Linked DNA regions of Homo sapiens: all the other regions are linked to region 4. Evidence: promoter capture Hi-C in 16 types of primary human blood cells and fetal thymus (Javierre and others, 2016). All regions are on one chromosome and are shown on one strand. Each heading gives the region's core, a stretch centred on a gene start or on the middle of the fragment in contact. The rest is flanking DNA. Distances are from core to core; before and after follow the strand shown.

Region 1 (2,756 bases), core at 246-2,745, 390 kb before region 4:
AGAGAATCATGAGCCCGTAAGGTCTCGGAAGACAGGTGCTGGGTCTGATCCGTCTTGGTATTGTCCGCCATGTCTAGCAGTGTCATGCAGAACACAGATGTGTATGCAACCATCTGTGACTCCCCTGGCTGCCCAGCATTCAAACTGCTTTGCCACATTAGAGGAGTTCCCCATGATATCAGTCTTGGGAACAGAGCCGACCTCCCAAGAAAGAAGACACAGGCACAAGAAGTGTGTCACCCCCACCTCCAGCAGCTCTGGAGCAGGCTAATTTGTAATCACCCGAAGGGTTCTTCCTGCCTGCTGCGTAGACAAAACCAATTCACTGAGACCATGGTATTGCAGTAGAGAAAGAGTTTAACAACACAGAGCTAGCCAAGTGAAAGGATGGGAGTTTATTTCTCAAATCAGTCCCCACAAGAACTCAGAGGCTAGGGTTCTTAAGGAGAATTTGGTGGGCGGTAAGAGCAGAGAATGGGTGCTACTGATTCGTTGGGGATAAAATCATAGGAGTGTAGAAAACAGACCTTGTGCACTAAGTCCACCTCTGGGTGGGGGTCACAGGACCAGTTGAGTCATGAATCATTTCAGAATGCAAAAGTCTGAAAAATATCTCAGAAGACCAATATTTGGTTTTACAATAGTGATGTTATCTATAGGAGCAATTGGGGAAGTCACAGATCTTGTGACCTCTGGCCGCATGACTCCTGAGCAGCAAAGGATTATAGAAAGGCAAGCTAGGGGTCAATGGCTGGTCATCGGTTAGCTACACCCACATCTTAGCAAAATTCAAGCCCCTCCCATAATCCTAATCTTGTGGCCTTTCATTAGTTTTACAAAGGCAGGTCCCTGAGCTAGGAGGGGGTTCATTTTAGGGAGGGACTAATATCATCTTTGCTTCAGAGTTAAACTGTAAACTAAATTCCTCCCATGGTTAGCTTGGCCTATGCCCAGGAATGAGTGAGGACAGCCAGCCTGTGAGGGTAGAGGCAAGATGGAGTCACCCATGCTAGACTTCCCTCACTGTCATCATCTTTGCAAAGGCAGTTTCACATGCACACACGTTCCATTCATCAGAGGCCCAGGCTTTCAATCCAGAGCCAGTAATGCCAGGAAGCAGGGACCCTAGAGCCTGTAGGGACAGTGGTGGCCACAGCAAGATCACAGAGGAGGTAGAGTTCTCAGCAGCACCCAGCATCCAGCCCCAGTGGGTAAGCATTGCAAGCCGAAGCATCCAGGCCATGGTCAAAGAAGTGGCAGCAGCGGCAGCCAGGTTCTGACCATTGTCCCTGCTGGGAAGCTTCCACAATGGCTCTGTAGCTCCCCTGGAATTTCCATGAGCAATCCAGGGTCCCTTTAATAAATTCATCTTCTGCTAAACTCAGCCAGAGTTGGTTTCTACTGCTTGCAACTAAAAATAATGGCTGATACAACACGCTCAGTGAGTATCTGAGGATTGGTTGATTGAATGTGCCAAAGTGAATTCAAACCATTCATTACCTTTCATTTTAGCCGTGTGACCTTGAAAAAGTTACTATGCCTCTCTGAGCTCCAGCTTTATCAGGTGTAAAATGGGAATAATAGCACCTACTTCAGACACAGCTATCACTGTCAGGGCCCATTGTGGCCAAGATTAAACAAAATAACGTATGCTAAGCATTCAGCATATACCTGGTACTCAGTAAGCTTTTAACAAATAACAAACCATATTAACTTCTCCAAACACCAAACACGGCAGCAGTAGCAGCAGCTTCCTCCCCATCAAGAGCATGCTTCAGTTAATACCAAGGAAAAGAGGACGCCTTATCAATGTGTCCAGGGTTCCTTCTCCTTTTCCTTGGAGCTCAACACTGCCCGATCTTGCCAGAAAAGTTAGACTCTCCTATCCTCACCTGTGTTTTATGTTCATTTCTGCAATTTTGCCACGAAATTGAAATACATTGCCAGGAGCAGTGGCTCACACCTGTAATCCCAGCAACTCAGAAGGCTGAGGCGGGAGGATCGCTTGAGGCTGGGAGTTCAAGACCAGCCTAGGCAACATAGGGAGACCTCATCTCTACAAAAAAGTTTAAAAATTAGCCATCCTGTGGTCCCAGCTACTCAGGAGGCTGAGAGGCAGGAGGATTGCTTGAGCCCAGGAGTTCAAGCCTGCAGTGAGCTATGACCACAGCATTGCACTTCAGCCTGGGTGCTCCGTTTCCCACCTCAAATTTCATTGGTCAGGCATAGTGGCTCATGCCAAAGTGCTGTAATCCCAGCACTTTGGTAGACCAAAAAGAGAGGATCACTTGATGCCAGGAGTTCAAGACCAGCCTGGGGAACATAGCAAGATTTCATCTCTACAAAAAGTCAAAAAATTAGTCAGGCATAGTGGCACGCACTTGTAGTCCCAGCTACTCAGGAGGCCAAGGGAGGAGGATAACTTGAGCCCAGGATTTTGAGGCTGCAATGAGCTATGATCACACCACTGCACTCCAGCCTGGGCAACAGAGTGAGACCCTGTCTCAAAAATAAATAAAATAAAATTTCATGCAGCCATGTTATCTAAGTAGCTATCGGAGATCCACAATGAGATTAAATGATGGTATTAAGAAGCTCCAACAAGGGATTGCCAACAATAAAGGTTTTGAACAACAAATAACCCTCCCATTTTCAAATTTGAACAACAAATAACCCTCCCATTAATCAAACTCCAAAATTAAAGTTCAAATCCCATTGCAAACTGAAACTATGACATTAAAGTCAAAAGTAATTGA
Region 2 (2,743 bases), core at 210-2,709, 280 kb before region 4:
AGACCCCAGGTCTGTAGCTGGAACTCAGGAAGGCTATGAGGCAGCAGAGCTGAATCAGTCAACACCTTTGGGGAACACCAGGATCTCACCAAAAATTTAACCACCAACCCCCCCCAAACAAAAATTAGCTGAAACACCCTGGAGAGACTGCAGCCACTGCTGTCATGCAGACATGTCACTAAAAGGTGGCACAACAGCATTTAAGTCCAGCTCTGCTACTCGAGAGTCTGCACCATTAGAGTTTGCTTCCTCATCACAAAATGGAATAATAATGTGATTAACAGTACAGGTTGACCATCCTTAATTAGAAAATCCAAAATCTGAAATTATGAGTGCCAGTGTGAGGCCGAAAATGGAAAATTCCACACCTGACTTCATAGTGGGGGGTGGGGGAGACTGTAGTCAAAACGCAGTCAAAACTTTGTCTCATGCACAAAATTATTCAGACTATTATATAAAATTACCCTCAGGCTATGTGCATAAGGTGCGTGTATATGAAACAAAACAATTTCGTGTTCAGATTTAGGTCCCATCCCCCAAGATATCCATGTATATGTAAATATTCCGAAATCTGAAAAAACCCGAAACACTTCCGGTCCCAACCATTTCGGGTAAGGGATACAGAACCTCTACTGTACAAAACGCAACTCGGACGCACAAGCTCAGGGTAGACCCTGGGCTCTGAGTGCCAAGAATGTTAGTCAGATTGTGGCTGCCGCCGTGTGGCGAGAAAGGGGACAACCGCTCATGGGCCCACAGATCCGGCGCCCTCTCCCGACCCAACTCCCGCCTTCCCGCGTCTGACCCGCCTTCCCGCGTCTGACCCACCTTCCCCGTCGCAGCTGAAGCCATAGGCTTTGATAACCTCCTGCTGGATCTGCGTGGCCACGGGCAGCACGAATTGCAGCATCTTACCCATGTCGTTGCAGGCGTTATCCCGAGCCTCGTCCATGCGCACTGCATTCTCCGGGGCGGAGAACGCCTGGATCACCTCCGCGAGGACCACTGCGCGCCAGAAGCATCCCAGGGAGGCGTCCCGGGTAGGCGTCGGAGAACAGACAGCGGGCCCAGCGGAGAGCGCAAGGAATTAGTGGATTGAGGCTGTAGGTAACCCAATAAGATCCCAAGTCTTGGGGGCAAGCGCCCCACTTAGAAGGACGGTACCCGGCGTCCCCTACCCCATTTTCCCGGCGGACGTAGCCAGGTTTGTCGCCCCACATCCTCCGCCCGCATCCTCCCCAGACCAGCAGCCCATGCCTTGACTACCCCAGGCCAGCAGCCTATGCCTTGACTAGGACGATTCTCACCCTTTGCTTGCTCAGCGCTCAAGGCCGCCGGTTGGGTCGAGGCGGACGCCATAGGGCGTCTGAAGCTCTAGGTTCAGCGGAGGTAAATGGAAAACTCACGAATAAAGAGCCACGTCCTACAACCGTTCCCAACGCCCCTGGGAGCGGAAAGGAAACAGCATCCGGCGCAGCCGGAAGCGCCCAGGCGTGGCCCAAACCTTCATACCCCAAGCTTACAACTGCATCAAGACCACCAAAACTACCCATAATTTTTGCACAGTGAAAACAATCTATCATTGGCAACAAACATCATAAGAGGGGCTTTCCGGTAAAAAGCCAGAAAGCCTACTAGACAAATTCTAAAAGAGCTGTAACACTGCTGCGTATGTGTTTGGAGAGAAGATGGGATATAAAGGAACTCCACAATTGATGAGGGTGAGCTTAGGTGACTTTTTTCTTGTTCCTATTACTGTATAAACAACGACGCATGTGGTAACTTTCAGTAGGAAAAATAATATTCTAAGGAACTTACTTAAGTCATTCATTTCTAGAGTTCGCGAACATTTGTTCTCAGCCCATGCAAATGAGTTCGGTGCTGATTGGTTGAGAAAGCAGCCAGTCACAGCCCCTTCGTTGTTGTTAAGCCCGGAGACCTGGATTCGGCAGTAAAGGCCCAGAGCAAAAGCCGTTGTCGCAGTTTCCTAAAGGCCTTGTCTATTGATGAGCGATGGAGCCTAATGCCCGGCCCGATTTCCCTTCCCTTCCAGGCTTTTATCACCCACTCCCTTCTCAAACTGTAGGTGGTTAAGGATGCCAGGTACTAATCGCCTGGACCTATTAAAACTAGCCCACCCCACCCCCGCTTCATAACCGGCTTTGTTTTTTGTTTTTGAGACGGAGTCTTGCTCTGTCGCCAAGCTGGAGTGCAGCTGGGGGGGATCTTGGCTCACCATAACCTCCACCTCCCGGGTTCAAGCGATTCTCCTGCCTCAACCTCCCAAGTCGCTGGGACGACAGGCGCGCGCCACCATGCCCAGCTAATGTTTTGTTTTTAGTAGAGACAGGGTTTTGCCATGTTGGCCAAGCTGGTCTGGAACTCCTGACCTCGTGATCCGCCCGCCTCGGCCTCCCAAAGTCCTGGGATTACCAGCGTGAGCCGTCGCGCCTGGCCTCATAACCGTTTCTTAAAGTATTCCACGGAAAGGTTTCAGGACTCTGAAGCCCTTGTTCCGGAGGACTCTGGTGGCTCCTAGCAGTGAGACCCGTCTGAATAGATTCCTAGAACTGACCACGTCAGAGGTGGGCCTGTCCCAGGCCTCTAGTGTTTGGTTGGTTGGGGTGTCTTTTGTTTGTTTGTTTTGAGATAGGGCCTTGCTCTGTCACCCAGGCTAGAGTGCAGTGGTGCGATCATGACTCACTGTAGCCTCGACCCCCAAGTGATCCTCCCACCTCAGCCT
Region 3 (2,700 bases), core at 62-2,561, 330 kb after region 4:
GTGTGGCTGCAGGAAGAACCAGTACCGGCATTATTGGAGTGAAAACCTTTTCCAGTGCTTCAATTGCAGCCTCTGCCTCAATGGGACCGTGCACCTCTCCTGTGAGCGCAGCTCTCCTGAGGCCAAGCCCTCTCCCCACCCCAGGGGTTGGCCCCTTCCCCATGCGGTGGCACTTCCTTTCCTTCCCCCTCCTGTATTCTGTGGGTCTGACAACCAACTCCTCTCTGGCCGCCCCCACCCTGTCCCTCGTCACTTCCTCTGTCCTGTGGGGTGGGGGTGCAGGCGCTTCTCCTTTAGCTGTGCCGCACTTCTCCCTACAGGCCAGGAGAAACAGAACACCGTGTGCACCTGCCATGCAGGTTTCTTTCTAAGAGAAAACGAGTGTGTCTCCTGTAGTAAGTGAGTATCTCTGAGAGCTGCTGGGCACTGGATGGTGGCATGGGTTGGGACGGGTGACTGGTGGGAACCATTAGCTGGGCAACAGATGCCAGGATGCCCCAGAGTGCTCAGGGTCCTACTGGCTGAGTAGGAGACACTTCGTTAAGACACCAGGCAGTCCTTCCCCTTGCTCTTCAAATCTGAAGAAGTCTTTGAGGATGGAAGATCATGCCCCAAGGGCTGGCAGCCCTTCCAACTCAGATATGTAGATTCTTGGATCTACGATAGCTCATTGGTTCTAGGACATACACTCTTATAGCTCTGAAATCAAACCTCCTATAACTGGTGACTCATCATGGTTGAATTGGCAGCTCTGTTTGCGTCTGGGTAGTAATGTAAAGAAAAGTGCCTTTTATTCTTGATGGCGTCTTAGGTTTGATGCAATATGGTATTTCCTCATTAGTCACTGTCCAGGCCTCCTTACTCCTGGCTCCACAGAGGCTGTTCTTGTCACTCACTTGCAAAGAATAAACTCTGAGGGCTCTCAGAGTTTGAACCCCAGCATAGCCACTTACTGGCTATGTGACGTTGGGCAAGTTTCTTAACATCTCTGAGCCTGACTTTTCTTTTGGTGTTTTTTTTTTTTTTTTTTTTTTGAGACAGGGTTTCACTCTGTCACCCAGGCTGGAGTGCAGTGGTGCAACCGTGGCTCAGCCTCCACCTCCAGGGCTCAAGCCATCCTCTTGCCTTAGCCTCCTGAGTAGCTGGGATTAGAGGCACACACCACTACACCCAGCTAATGTTTTACTTTTTGTAGAGACAGGGTCCTACTATATTGCCCAGGCTGGCCTCGGACTCCTGGGCTCAAGCGATCTTCCGCCTCAGCCTCCCAAAGTGCTAGGATTACGGGCATGAGCCACCACGCCTGGCCTGGGCCTTAGATTTCTTATATTTAAAGTAAGCATAATGACATTCATTTGGTGAATTTGTGAGAACCAAAAACAAAGAAACAAACAAAACCTACAACACGTCTGACACAAAACTATTTATTTTCCATTAATCTTCTTTTTTTTTTTTTTTTTTTTTTTTGACACAGAGTCCTGCTCTGTCGCCCAGGCTGGAATGCAGTGGCGCGATCTCGGCTCACTGCAACCTCTGCCTCCCAGATTCAAGCAATTCTCCTGCTTCAGCCTCCCAAGTAGCTGGGATTACAGGCACGTGCCACCATGCCTGGCTAATTTTTGTATTTTTAGTAGAGATGGGGTTTCACCATCTTGGTCAGGCTGGTCTCAAACTCCTGGTGATCCACCTGCCTCTGCCTCCCAAAGTGCTGGGATTACAGCCGTGAGCCACTGCACCCAGCCGGCTTCATCTCTTCTTGAAATCACTTTTATACCATTCTATGTGGTTCTCACCATGAGCTTGAGTGGTGGGCTAAAGTGCCTCTCCCTGCTTTCAGCTTCCTGCTGGGAACTCACTCTCTCAAGTTCCTTCCAGCACCACCCCATAGAGTTCCCATCACTCCACACTGTCCAGTGACAACTCCCAACATGGAAGATCTGCTAGTTCTACAGGGTGCTCTCTGGCTGCCCCAGTAACATGTGTTTTTAAATTTTTCACATGCATGTTTGACCCCGACTCCCCGAAGTCAGGTACTGTAACTAGCAGTGTCATTTAAGAAAAAGCCCTTTAACCTCTCTTTGCCAAAGGATTCTTATCAGCAAAACAGTGATGAAACAACAATCCCATAACAGCTAGCTGGCTACCTTCTCAAGCACTTATTAAATGAGGCATAATGATTTTGCTTAATCCTCAATCCTGAGAGGTGGGCGATCCCTGTGGTGATGAGGAAACCGAGGCTTGGGGGTTAATGGCTTGCCTAGATTCACACTGCTAGCCAAGGAATGAACTGGAATTTACACCCTGACCCTGACTGCTTTTCACATTTTCTACACAGCCTTTTCAAGATCCCTGCCAATTCTAAAATTAAATGATTCTATGATTAACTGTGTTTCATTCTTCTGCATCAGTTCCCAAAACAAATTATATCAAGAGACAGCAAAAATATTTGTAAAGAAAGGATGTCCAACAATCTGTGTGGTTGTTTTTCTGTGTTCCTCCAATGGTAGGGCCTCTGTTCACCAGTGCCGTCTCTTCTTTTAGCTGTAAGAAAAGCCTGGAGTGCACGAAGTTGTGCCTACCCCAGATTGAGAATGTTAAGGGCACTGAGGACTCAGGTGAGGAGAAGTGACCTGGTGCCCATGCTCACCTGCCCTCTCCCTCTTCTTGCCCCCACCCGTCCATCCATCCCACCCATCCATC
Region 4 (2,700 bases), core at 35-2,534:
GGCCTTTGTGTTGGCAGTGTGTTGACAGCCTAGTGTGTTGGCAGCCTCTCATACCCTTGACTGCTTCCCATTCTGATGAAAACCATAGAAATCACTCTACCATAGCTGACTAGAGTGATGGCTAGCAACTAACTAGCCAACTAGCCCAGTAGTGATACTGCTGCATCCCTCAATCCCTTCAGAATTATGATGCTAACATCACATATAAACAAAAGGAAAACAAAAACACGAGATTTCCCCCTTAGAGAGTAGCAAGAGGGGCCAGGCACAGTGGTTCGCACCTGTAATCCCAGCACTTTGAGAGGCTGAGGTGGGCAGATCACCTGAGGTCGGAAGTTCGAGACCAGCCTCACCGACATGGAGAAACCCCATCTCTACTAAAAATACAAAATTAGTCTGGCGTGATGGTGCATACCTGTAATCCCAGCTACACGGGAGGCTGAGACAGAAGAATCACTTGAACCCGGGAGGTGGAGGTTGCGGTGAGCCATGATCACGCCATTGCACTCCAGCCTGGGCAATAAGAGTGAAAATTCTGTCTCAAAAAAAAAAAAAAAAAAGCAAGAGGGCAAGGCAGGAAGTAATATTTTATATGTGAAAGTGTATTCTAGTGTAACGTACAGGAGCTCTGACAAAAGATGTGCAGAATTATAGCTTTATTATGAGTCATTCTTTGTATTTATAAGTAGAAAGGTGATCATCTTTCTCAAGTTAAAAAAATAATGCTGGGGGAGATGGTGTTTGTGTGAGTGAATAGAAATTCAGACGGTTTAAATGTCTCAAGGCCTGATACTCTTCCCCAACTTCCTTAAGAAACTAACTGGCTTGAAAAAAGTCATTCTGCAAAAGAGGGAAAAAAAGTTGGATCTTCCAGTTGCTGAGAAGGTATGTTTACGCAATATGAGCCTAAAGTGAACAGTTACCCCTGCACGGATTACCATACATTCCCGTTTTGGAGGGAAAAAAGTTTGCTAGAGAATGCAAAATGGCGACCTCCAGTGACGTCATACCTGTCTCGGTCGCGTCCTGGGGTGTCTGTAAGGGCGGAAGCGGGCTACAGCCGCCTCACTGTGGGCGGTCGTGGCTACCATGCAAAAGGAAAAGTTTCAGTGTCGGGCGGATGTGTACCGGCGGTAATATAGTAAGGGCGGAAGTTCTCCTTTAAGGGCGGAAGTTCTCCTTTTAAGGGCGGAAGTTCTCCTTTTAAGGGCGGAAAGGCTTTAGCCGCAAAATGGCTTCGGCCCCTGTCGCGTTACAGTCACTTCCGGGGCGGATCGGAAGTTGCTTTGTTTTGCTTCGAGATGGCTGCGGGGATGTATTTGGAACATTATCTGGACAGTAAGAGCAGGCTGGAGGTGGGGGTCGGGGCTGCAGAGTGGTGCGGGGATCAGGGATGAGAGGATCTGTAGCCCTTAAGTTCCAGTGACGAGAAGGTCACAATTATGAAGCGGTTCTGTGGCAGGAAATATTGGAGGGTGCGGAGAAAGAGGGGGCGGGGCAGCAGGATCGAGGCCCCGCTGATGGGTGTAGACGAGGGAGGGGTGCGGTGTGGGGGTTAGAGACGTGTCTTGAAGGGCTAGTGTGCATGGCCAGGAAGATAGTTGCTGCCCCCATTCTCCAGGGTCTCCAGCCTCGGTAGATTTTTTTCCCCATAGTCGTTCAGAATCGTTATCACACACTGCCATTTGGAGAAGCGGTAAAGACCTCTCCTCCACTCCATTCTTCCTCAAAAGTGGCTTCTCATGGGGTTGAGAGTGGTGGTGATGAGTGACCACTGTCAGATGATGAACTAGAACGCTTCTCTTCATGGAGTAAAGATCTAATTCCCATCAAATGAAAATCTGGTGTTTATGCGATTTATGTAAACCACCCCTGCAGAAAGCCTATTGCTCTGTGCGCTTACATTTGTTTTAGGGCCCGGAGTCATTTATTCAACAAATATTTATTGAGGTCCTGCTATGGGTCAGACATAATGGCAGGCACTAGGGATAGAAAAATGAGTAAGACAAGGCTCCTGCCCTCAAGAAGCTCACGATCTAGTAGGAAACAGATTCTGCAAATAATTATAAAACACTGTGACAAGTGAGATAATGGAAATACATTAAAAAGGACACTTGGTAGGCAACCCTGGAGAAAAGGGGGGTAATTACCTGGGGATGTAGGAAAAGCTTTACAGCGGAGGTGATGTTTGAATAGGGTCTTGAAGGTTATTTGCCAGTGAGGAGAGAAAAAAGGAATTCCAGGTTGGGGAAAGCATCCGCAAAGGTACTGTGATGGGTTTGTGGCAAGGTCAAGGGTGTTTGATATTTATGACTCAGAGGTCAGCGTATTTGATATTTATGAATCTAAGGTAAGAAATTGAGAAAGGAGACTGGAGAAAGAGGCTGAGGCTAGATTGGACAAGGTCTTTTAAGCCAAACGAAGAAGTTTGCATTTTAAAGTAGAGTATGATTTTTATAGAGGAAAATGACTAATATATGGTAAATTGGAGCATGATATTGTTGATAACAGAGATCAATTAGTGATAACATTCCAGGACAGAGATAAGAACCTGATTTTAGGGAGTTACAGAAGTATTTAGGAGTTAAATATGAAAGGACTGACTGAATGACTGAGTGGTTGAGAGAGAAGGAAGAATCTAAGGTGGCTTCTTCCTGCTTAGAAAGTGAGGTAGACAGGCTGGGCACAGTAGCTCATGCC
Region 5 (2,700 bases), core at 92-2,591, 350 kb before region 4:
CTGCAATTTTTAATATTCAATACTTCAAAGAAAAAGTAAGCTTATGTGGACTGCTGCACTGGAGTATTTTGAGCAGTCAGAAGACTGTAAAAGGAGTGTGTTTATGTTTGTGTGGTGTATGCTTGCAAGGAGTTTGATGGAAGGATGCTGAAGAGGAATTTTGCCATGAGCCCTGGTGCTGGCAAATACTACCAGAAAACATCTCCCCTTCAACAGCTTGGATCTCATCACTCCTTAATGTAACTAATACCATGAATTGCTCATATAAATTCAGTAACATGCACCTACTACAGGTAAAGCAGTATTCTTAACCCTGCAAGGGCAGGAGCAGTGGGTGTAGTATGAGTCAGGAGCCCTGCACTCAAAGGTATTATGGTCTGTTAGGGTATAGGAAATGGGCCTGAGATAAGTATACTAATAACCCCAATAAATTTTAAGCACCATAAGAGAGGTACAGAGCTTTGTGAGATTTAAAGATGGGACATTTCATTTAAAGATGAGTAAGGTTTCAGCATGCTGAGATGGTAAGACTTAAGGAATAGCATGAGCAGAGGCACTGAGGTGTGAATGTGGCAACACAGCCAAGGAACAGTCAGTAGTCTAGTGTGACTAAAACAGGACTTTAAAGAAGTGATGGAAAATCAGGCTGGAACTGTAGGTTAAAGAGCCTTTAAAGCCAAGGTAAAGAGTTAGTACTCACGTAGGTGATAGGGAACATTGGAGATTTTTGAGTGGGGAATAATATGGCTGGAGCTGTATTTAAAAAGATAATACAGCCTGGGGTGATTTGAAGTCAGCATAGACAAGTAGTAGGGAAACTAAGGAGAAAGAAGTGATCTAGAGAGGAAGTTATAATGACTTGGAGGCAGGGTGGCTGTGCTGAGAGGAGAAAGTGGGCATCTCCTGTGAGATGGTCTAGGAATACCGGAACCTTTTGAAAGGTAGATTCTGTAGACACAGTCATCTACACAGCTGCTCATGCCTGAAACCCAAGAATCAGCTTTGTTGCCTTTCTTCACTCACTCCCCACATCCCAGTCACCCAATCCTATCAATACAACCTCTGGATTGTGTCTCAGATCCATCTACTATTCTCCATCACCACAGCCACTAACCATCTGTCACCAGCACCACCCAAGTAGCCTCCTGACTAGTCTCTAATTCTGTTCTTGCCCCCTCAGTCCACTCTCCAAAAGCAGCCAGAGTGATCCGATCCTGTGCCTCTCCTGCTCAGAACCCTTCAGGGGCTTCCATACCTGGCTGGTAAGCCCCTGCCTGCTGCCCCAGCCTCGTCCCAAGCAAGCTGACAACCTTTTAGCCACATGGCCTTTGTTCAGTTCCTCAGGAAAGGCATGAAGGCTTCCCTACCTCAGAGCCTTTGCACACGCTTACCTGCTGCCTGGAGTGCCCTTCAGTCACCTGACAAACTCCTTTTCATCTTCCTCTGAGTTCTTTCCTGACTCTCATGTTCAATTATGTCCCCTGTTACACTTTCTCATACTGACCGGAATTTCCTTCCAAGTATATATTACACTTTGTAATTATATATTTGTAGATGAGGACAGAAACCATGGAAGTTTTGTTTACCACAGTGTACCCAGAGTTTAACACATTACTTGGCTTGTAGAAAAGGCTCGATAAATACTTGAATAGGTGAATGTATGAATGAATGACTTGGCAACTTATTAGCTGGAGGATAAAGTCGTAATTTTAAAAAGACTCCATCCTCCTGCCTGAGTAGCTGGAAAGATAAGGGTATCTTTGACCAATGCCAGAGATCAAGTGGAGGATCAGATACTCTTAAGTGCCAGGAAATGATCTGGTTTGGGGTTCACTTTAGGTTCCAAGGGCACTTCCAGGTATCTTGGGAGTTGTGAAGCCTGGTCTTGAGCTCAGGAAAGAAGCTGGGCTAAAGACAGAGTTTTAGGAGACAGTATTGGTATCATAACTGACTCAGGGAGGGAATGAAATGCCATGGAAAAGGTTATACAGAGAAGAGGATCTTATTCACGTTGATTGGGTATGTTAATGTTGCTACCCCTTGATAATAGTAATAGCTGGCATTTATTAAGGATTTTCTGTGTACCAGACATTGTCCTAAATGGTCAACAGGCAGTTCCCCACCTAAACCTGCCAGTTACCCGTGAGGTAATTATAGTGCTGTTAAGATCTCCTGGTACAGATAGGAAAGTCAGCCCTACAAAGATTGAGTAAGTCACACTGAGTTCTGCCTGACTCCAGAGTTCCTGCTCTTTACCGCTGAGATTGGGAGGAGCATGTGGGGCTGGAAAAGATAAATGCCCTTGGTGTCCTTTTCTCTTTTCACTCTCAGTGGTTAAACCAAGATGCAATCAGTATATGAGCCACCTCTCAGTGTCCAAAGCTAGAGCTGGCCAAATGGAGCAGATGGCCACCCTGCTTACTGTGAGTGTTCCCTAGTCTTGGCCATGATGGTGGCTTGGCTGTTAGACTGATCAAAAATTGCAGCTGGGGGTAACAATTCATCCCTCAGAGGTTCAGAATTAGCATCACTAAAGTTAGCGACCTTTAAAATCAAAGGAGGTCCTGCAGTTTAGTTCCCTTTGGACCAAAGTCAGGTCTGGCCCTTCAGAAAAAAATCCATTATTCAGTGCAGAAAGCTTTCTTCAGGTAGCACTGGAATCACAATATAAAGAGACCAAAGGTAAGCTAGATGAAAATT
Region 6 (2,700 bases), core at 1-2,500, 310 kb before region 4:
ACAGTATTCATAGGATAAACAAATAGCAAATGTACAGCCTTGGCTTCCCCAAACTCCACAGTCTCAGTGCAGAAAGATCATCTTCCAGCAGTCAGCTCAGACCAGGGTCAAAGGATGTGACATCAACAGTTTCTGGTTTCAGAACAGGTTCTACTACTGTCAAATGACCCCCCATACTTCCTCAAAGGCTGTGGTAAGTTTTGCACAGGTGAGGGCAGCAGAAAGGGGGTAGTTACTGATGGACACCATCTTCTCTGTATACTCCACACTGACCTAAGAAAAGAACAGTTTTGTCAGCCAACTCTGTCACTCAGTAGCTGTTTCAGCCCTTCTTTAGGGCAGGAAAACTATGGCTGAGCTAGTATTTCAGCTGTGCTGTTGAATATCAAATCCCTACAAAGGATGAAGAAGGTCCTAACTGTGACTTCCAATTATGGCAGCAGCCCTCAAAGGATGTGCCCTGGGGCAGGGTGTGGAACTGTCATGTGTCTTCTAGCTCATTGTAAGCATTGTTAAAATGCCTACTGCTCTGGGAATTCTATACTAAGTTCAGCTCTACCAAGAATTTCAGGGTTGAGCCCAGACCTTACCTTGCCATGGGCAAAGGCCCCTACCACAAAAACAATAGGATCACTGCTGGGCACCAGCTCACGCACATCACTGACAACCGGGATGGAAAAAGAAGTGCCAACTTTCATACATCCAACTGGAAAGTGATCTGATACTGGATTCTTAATTACCTAAAGTAAAAAAGAGAGAAAAGTCAGCCCCAGAAACATTCCCAGAACCAGCCTTCAACTAACAGGTTTCAATACCTCACCTTCAAAAGCTTCTGGGGGCCATCAGCTGCTCGAACACTGAGCTTGTGTAAAAGTTGAACTAGAAGGGGGAAAAAAGAGTTCAGAGCTAGATGGAGACCACAGTCCTTCTGTCCAGTCATCGAACAAGGAAAACCCCATGGATAAGATGAGTTCCCTGTGTGCTTTATATCTAGACTGGACTCCTGAAATGTTAGGAACAAACAGTTGCCAAGCATATGGCTAGCTGTACAGTGATGGGTTCAGACTCCCTCTTTCACTCAGCCAGGAAGCTACTGCAAGAACAGGAGTGGAGTTTCCACAAACATAGAAAAATAATAACAGTCCTTGTCCTGGTATTAATCATGTTGTTCTCCCATTTTCTCGCTTAAAAATCCACATTTAGTTCTCCCTTTTCCTCTTCCTCCCTTCTTCCCTACTGACAAGTTCATTCTAACTTTGTTCTAAGGCTTCTTACCCATGAGGCCACAAAAGCGGTCAAAGGTTCTGGGAATTCGGGTCTGGGGATTCACTTCAATCAGAACATTCTTCTGTGTATGGATATAAACCTGTAGCAAGCCAGCTCGGTTCAGGGGACTATCCATCAGCATCAGCAAACTCTGAGCAAAGCAGAAACCGAGACATGGTTAAGGCTGAAGAGAGGCAGCACTCAGCTGCCAACCCTTCCATACAGAGGCTCAAAGGGTTGTGAGCACTGTCCCTGGAGTTACCTGGTGGGTGATATCTGGCCGCGCTTCCCCAGGGTCCCGTCCATTCTTCAACAATATAGACTTGTGCTTGTCACAGTTGAGTAGCTCATATGTCTTCCCTACCTGAAGAACAGGGAACATGACGAGAGAACAGCATAAGCTTCTGTTACCTAGCCCCGTGGTTCTTCAAGTGTGGTCCCCAAACTACCAGCAGCAGCTGCACCTGGAAACTTGTTAGGCAAATTCTCAGGCCCACCCTAGACCTACTAAACCAGGAACACTGGGGGTGGAGCCCAGCAAGCCCTTCGGGGGATTACTGTGCAGCCTTATTTGCACTCCCCAGTGAATGGTCTGAGAGGGAAACAGGAGGAAGGGCACAACCTGTGACTTCACATTATCTACTAATACACTGGATTTAATTAAAAAACCTGTGGCTGTTAGGCAAGGCCAATGAGACATCCTGGAACTAGGCAGGAGTTAGTAGTTAGCAAGGCTGAATGCTGTGTTTATTACAGGAGCAGTAAGTAGGTACTGTGCAAAATATCGAGTCACCACCCTCAGTTTGCGTACACCAAACATGCACTAAGTGAAGAGCTGCAAATCTGAACAAGAAATGTGAAGGCCGGGCGTGGTGGCTCACGCCTGTAATCCCAGCACTTTGGGAGGCCGAGGCGGGCAGATCACAAGGTCAGGAGATTGAGACCATCGTGGCTAACACGGTGAAACCCCATCTCTACTAAAAATATAAAAAATTAGCCGGGCATGGTGGCAGGCGCCTGTAGTCCCAGCTACTTGGGAGGCAGAGGCAGGAGAATGGCATGAACCCAGGAGGCGGAGCTTGCAGCGCCACTGCACTCCAGCCCGGGCAACAGAGCGAGACTCCATCTCAAAAAAAAGAAATGTGAAAACTAATGATGCAGGAGGCAGTTTAATCAAAGAAAACTCTCAGAAGTAAAAGGAAGAGGGGTTATTCCCAGTTTTAAGACGGGCATGGGGGCAGATGCAGTGGCTCACGGCTGTAATCCCAGCACTCTGGGAGGCCAAGGCAGGCAAATCACTTAAGGTCAGGAGTTCAAGACCAGCCTGGGCAACATGGCGAAACCCCATCTCTACTAAAAATACAAAAATTAGCTGGGCATGGTGGCACATGCCTGTAGTCCTAGCTACTTGGGAGGCTAAGGTGGGAGGATGGC
Region 7 (2,700 bases), core at 180-2,679, 310 kb after region 4:
GTATTTTCAGTAGAGACTGGATTTCACCATGTTGGCCAGGCTGGTCTCGAATTCCTGACCTCAGGTAATCCACCTGCCTCAGCCTCCCAAAGTGTTGGTATTACAGGCGTGAGCCACCGCACCCAGCCTATTGTCTTTTTTTAAATAACACACATCTTAATGGGTGTGAAGTGGTATCTTATTGTGGCTTAATTCCCTTATTCTTATACAATTATTGTTCCCATTTTTCTTTTCTTTTTTTTTTTTTTTGAGACGGAGTCTCGCTCAGTCGCCCAGGCTAGAGTGTGCAATGGCGCGATCTCGGCTCACTGCAAGCTCCGCCTCCCGGGTTCACGCCATTCTCCTGCCTCAGCCTCCCGAGTAGCTGGGACTACAGGCGCCCGCCACCACGCCCGGCTAATTTTTTGTATTTTTAGTAGAGACGGGGTTTCACCGTGTTAGCCAGGATGGTCTCGATCTCTTGACCTCGTGATCCACCCGCCTCGGCCTCCCAAAGTGCTGGGATTACAGGCGTGAGCCACCACGCCCGGCCTGTTCCCATTTTTCTTTATGGCGTTTATGTTTTTGTCCATAGCATATATTTCCTTACACTGGTGTATCCTGTTTTGTTTTTCGCCTGACTTAGCTTATTTTCTTTCTTTATTAATTTATTTTTTAGGCCAGGTGCGGTCGCTCACACCTGTAATCCCAGCACTTTGGGAGGCCGAGGCGGGCAGATCACGAGGTCAGGAGATCGAGACCATCTTGGCTAACACAGAGAAACCCCATCTCTACTAAAAATACGAAAAATTAGCCGGGCGTGGTGGCGGGCGCCTGTAGTCCCAGCTACTCCGGAGGCTGATGCAGGAGAATGGTATGAACCCGGGAGGCGGAGCTTGCAGTGAGCCAAGATTGCGCCACTGCACTCTAGCGTGGGCAACAGAGCGAAACTCCGTCTAAAAAAAAAATTAATTTATTAAAAATTTTTTTTTTTAGAGACAAGGTCTCACTCTGTTGCCAGAGTTGGAGTACAAAGGCACACTCATAGCTCACTTGCAACCTTGAACTCCTGGCCTCAAACGACCCTCCCACCTCGGCCTCCCAAAGTGCTGAGCCACTGTCCCTGGCTTAGCTTAATTTCTTAAACGCTTCTTGGTACTGCCACTCATAAGGCATCATTATAATGCTAAATAATGCTCTTGTAAAGTGGGTACCCAGGGATCTTGGGAGACCTCTTGGGTGTGGGGTAGAGAAAGCTGAGGTGCCCTAGGAGAACAGGCATCTCTCTGTACCCACAGGGTACTGCTACTATAAGCTCCAGGTTGACTTCTCCTCAGACCACCTGGGCTGTTTCACCAAGTGCCGGAAGCCATGCAGGTTAGTGTCCCCTTCCCCGGGTACAGGTTGGGTAGAATACAGGTTACCGAGCCAAGCATTTGGGAGAGCTCTGCCCCAACACTGAGCACCTTTCTCCATCCCCAGCGTGACCAGCTACCAGCTCTCTGCTGGTTACTCACGATGGCCCTCGGTGACATCCCAGGTAGAGTGTGGGGAAGGGATGGGTGGGGGATGTGTGTGCCCATGTAATGCTGTGGCCTTCTCTGGGTATTATGTGTATGAGTGTGTTTGACACAACCCTATCCCTGTAAGCCTGAAGCATATGGGAGTGACCTTGATGACACCCCCATTCTTTCCTAGGAATGGGTCTTCCAGATGCTATCGCGACAGAACAATTACACCGTCAACAACAAGAGGTCAGTCCTGCCCTGGTCCCAGCCACAAGAAGGGAATCTTTGGGAGGGAAAATAGACCTAAGAAGAGGGATCGATATGGTTGATTAGAGGAAGGTCCAGGAAATTCATCCTCTACCATTTCTTCCCACCCTCTGCCCCACACCTAAGAAATGGAGTGGCCAAAGTCAACATCTTCTTCAAGGAGCTGAACTACAAAACCAATTCTGAGTCTCCCTCTGTCACGGTAGGTCGTGCCTGGATGGAGCCTGTGATGCTCTGGGGGTCTTACTTAGCAGGGCGGCTGTCGGGGAAAACCAAAAGGTTGTCTCTGTGGGCCAGAAGGCTCTGAGTCTCAAAGGCAGGGGACCAAAGAAGAGGGTCAAGGGAGAGGTTGGGAGGGTTGGAAGAAGGAGCTCGGCCGGGGCATAAGGTCTCTGGGGGTGGTGGGAGGGACAGGCATGCTAGATGCTGGGGTGAAGGCGCTTGACCCATGCCCCCATTTCAGCTGCCCCTAACTGTGGGCCAGTTATCAGTTTTCTCTGGGTGACACTGGCCAGGAGCAGAGACAAAGAGCCCAGGGGGCTGCTGAGAGGCTGAGAGGACTCGGGGGTCTTCAGGGATGAAGGGAGACAGCTTGGTGAGGAGGGAAGGGGGCTCCTCTGCCAGAGTCCATCCAGAACCCTCTGTCCCATCGTCAATGTACCTCTCCTCTCACAGATGGTCACCCTCCTGTCCAACCTGGGCAGCCAGTGGAGCCTGTGGTTCGGCTCCTCGGTGTTGTCTGTGGTGGAGATGGCTGAGCTCGTCTTTGACCTGCTGGTCATCATGTTCCTCATGCTGCTCCGAAGGTTCCGAAGCCGATACTGGTCTCCAGGCCGAGGGGGCAGGGGTGCTCAGGAGGTAGCCTCCACCCTGGCATCCTCCCCTCCTTCCCACTTCTGCCCCCACCCCATGTCTCTGTCCTTGTCCCAGCCAGGCCCTGCTCCCT

The links. The method cuts DNA at HindIII sites, captures the fragments that hold promoters and counts their contacts. A CHiCAGO score of 5 or more calls a contact.
Region 1: a fragment that was not itself captured here is called in contact with the fragment with the promoter of ING4 in region 4 in 1 of 17 cell types (activated CD4 T cells); the score reaches 5.3 in activated CD4 T cells.
Region 2: the fragment with the promoter of C12orf57 here is called in contact with the fragment with the promoter of ING4 in region 4 in 2 of 17 cell types (non-activated CD4 T cells and naive CD4 T cells); the score reaches 7.5 in non-activated CD4 T cells.
Region 3: a fragment that was not itself captured here is called in contact with the fragment with the promoter of ING4 in region 4 in 2 of 17 cell types (naive CD4 T cells and total CD8 T cells); the score reaches 5.1 in naive CD4 T cells.
Region 5: a contact is called between a fragment that was not itself captured here and the fragment with the promoter of ING4 in region 4, in 3 of 17 cell types (non-activated CD4 T cells, activated CD4 T cells and naive CD4 T cells). The highest score is 7.9, in non-activated CD4 T cells.
Region 6: a contact is called between a fragment that was not itself captured here and the fragment with the promoter of ING4 in region 4, in 8 of 17 cell types (non-activated CD4 T cells, naive CD4 T cells, activated CD4 T cells and 5 more). The highest score is 20.2, in non-activated CD4 T cells.
Region 7: a fragment that was not itself captured here is called in contact with the fragment with the promoter of ING4 in region 4 in 2 of 17 cell types (naive CD8 T cells and non-activated CD4 T cells); the score reaches 6.1 in naive CD8 T cells.

What each region holds. Positions count from the first base shown.
Region 1 is chr12:7,056,613-7,059,368 of GRCh38, reverse strand. No RefSeq gene overlaps it. Among named protein-coding and RNA genes, the nearest start is that of C1S, 2.7 kb to the left of the region's middle. The HindIII fragment of the contact is 386 bases long and covers 1,303-1,688 here.
Region 2 is chr12:6,942,738-6,945,480 of GRCh38, reverse strand. It overlaps C12orf57 (chromosome 12 open reading frame 57), which reads right to left and starts at 1,459. Exons shown (of 3, transcript NM_138425.4): 1 at 1,308-1,459; 2 at 829-1,005. The coding sequence starts at 1,359. RNU7-1 (RNA, U7 small nuclear 1) reads right to left here and starts at 1,665; the gene lies at 1,603-1,665. RefSeq lists enhancers at 1-242, 803-952, 492-1,071, 963-1,082, 1,383-1,572 and 1 more and a silencer at 910-1,169. The HindIII fragment of the contact is 10,579 bases long and covers 1-1,520 here.
Region 3 is chr12:6,330,768-6,333,467 of GRCh38, reverse strand. TNFRSF1A (TNF receptor superfamily member 1A) reads left to right here. Exons shown (of 10, transcript NM_001065.4): 4 at 1-101; 5 at 321-399; 6 at 2,542-2,615. Among named protein-coding and RNA genes, the nearest start is that of TNFRSF1A, 10 kb to the left of the region's middle. The HindIII fragment of the contact is 4,278 bases long and covers 1-2,700 here.
Region 4 is chr12:6,661,703-6,664,402 of GRCh38, reverse strand. ING4 (inhibitor of growth family member 4) reads left to right here and starts at 1,284. Exons shown (of 8, transcript NM_016162.4): 1 at 1,284-1,338. The coding sequence starts at 1,302. RefSeq lists an enhancer at 1,254-1,313. The HindIII fragment of the contact is 5,227 bases long and covers 1-2,170 here.
Region 5 is chr12:7,011,897-7,014,596 of GRCh38, reverse strand. The region is part of intron 1 of LPCAT3 (lysophosphatidylcholine acyltransferase 3); the gene reads left to right. Among named protein-coding and RNA genes, the nearest start is that of LPCAT3, 5.2 kb to the left of the region's middle. The HindIII fragment of the contact is 2,598 bases long and covers 43-2,640 here.
Region 6 is chr12:6,973,269-6,975,968 of GRCh38, reverse strand. It overlaps EMG1 (EMG1 N1-specific pseudouridine methyltransferase), which reads right to left. Exons shown (of 6, transcript NM_006331.8): 2 at 1,529-1,630; 3 at 1,276-1,417; 4 at 821-879; 5 at 591-740; 6 at 1-273. The coding sequence ends at 160. Among named protein-coding and RNA genes, the nearest start is that of EMG1, 3.7 kb to the right of the region's middle. The HindIII fragment of the contact is 838 bases long and covers 832-1,669 here.
Region 7 is chr12:6,347,983-6,350,682 of GRCh38, reverse strand. It overlaps SCNN1A (sodium channel epithelial 1 subunit alpha), which reads left to right. Exons shown (of 13, transcript NM_001038.6): 9 at 1,278-1,356; 10 at 1,462-1,519; 11 at 1,678-1,733; 12 at 1,881-1,956; 13 at 2,430-2,700. It overlaps LOC107984500 (a long non-coding RNA gene), which reads right to left and starts at 2,502. Exons shown (of 4, transcript XR_007063191.1): 1 at 2,416-2,502. The HindIII fragment of the contact is 4,954 bases long and covers 1-2,700 here.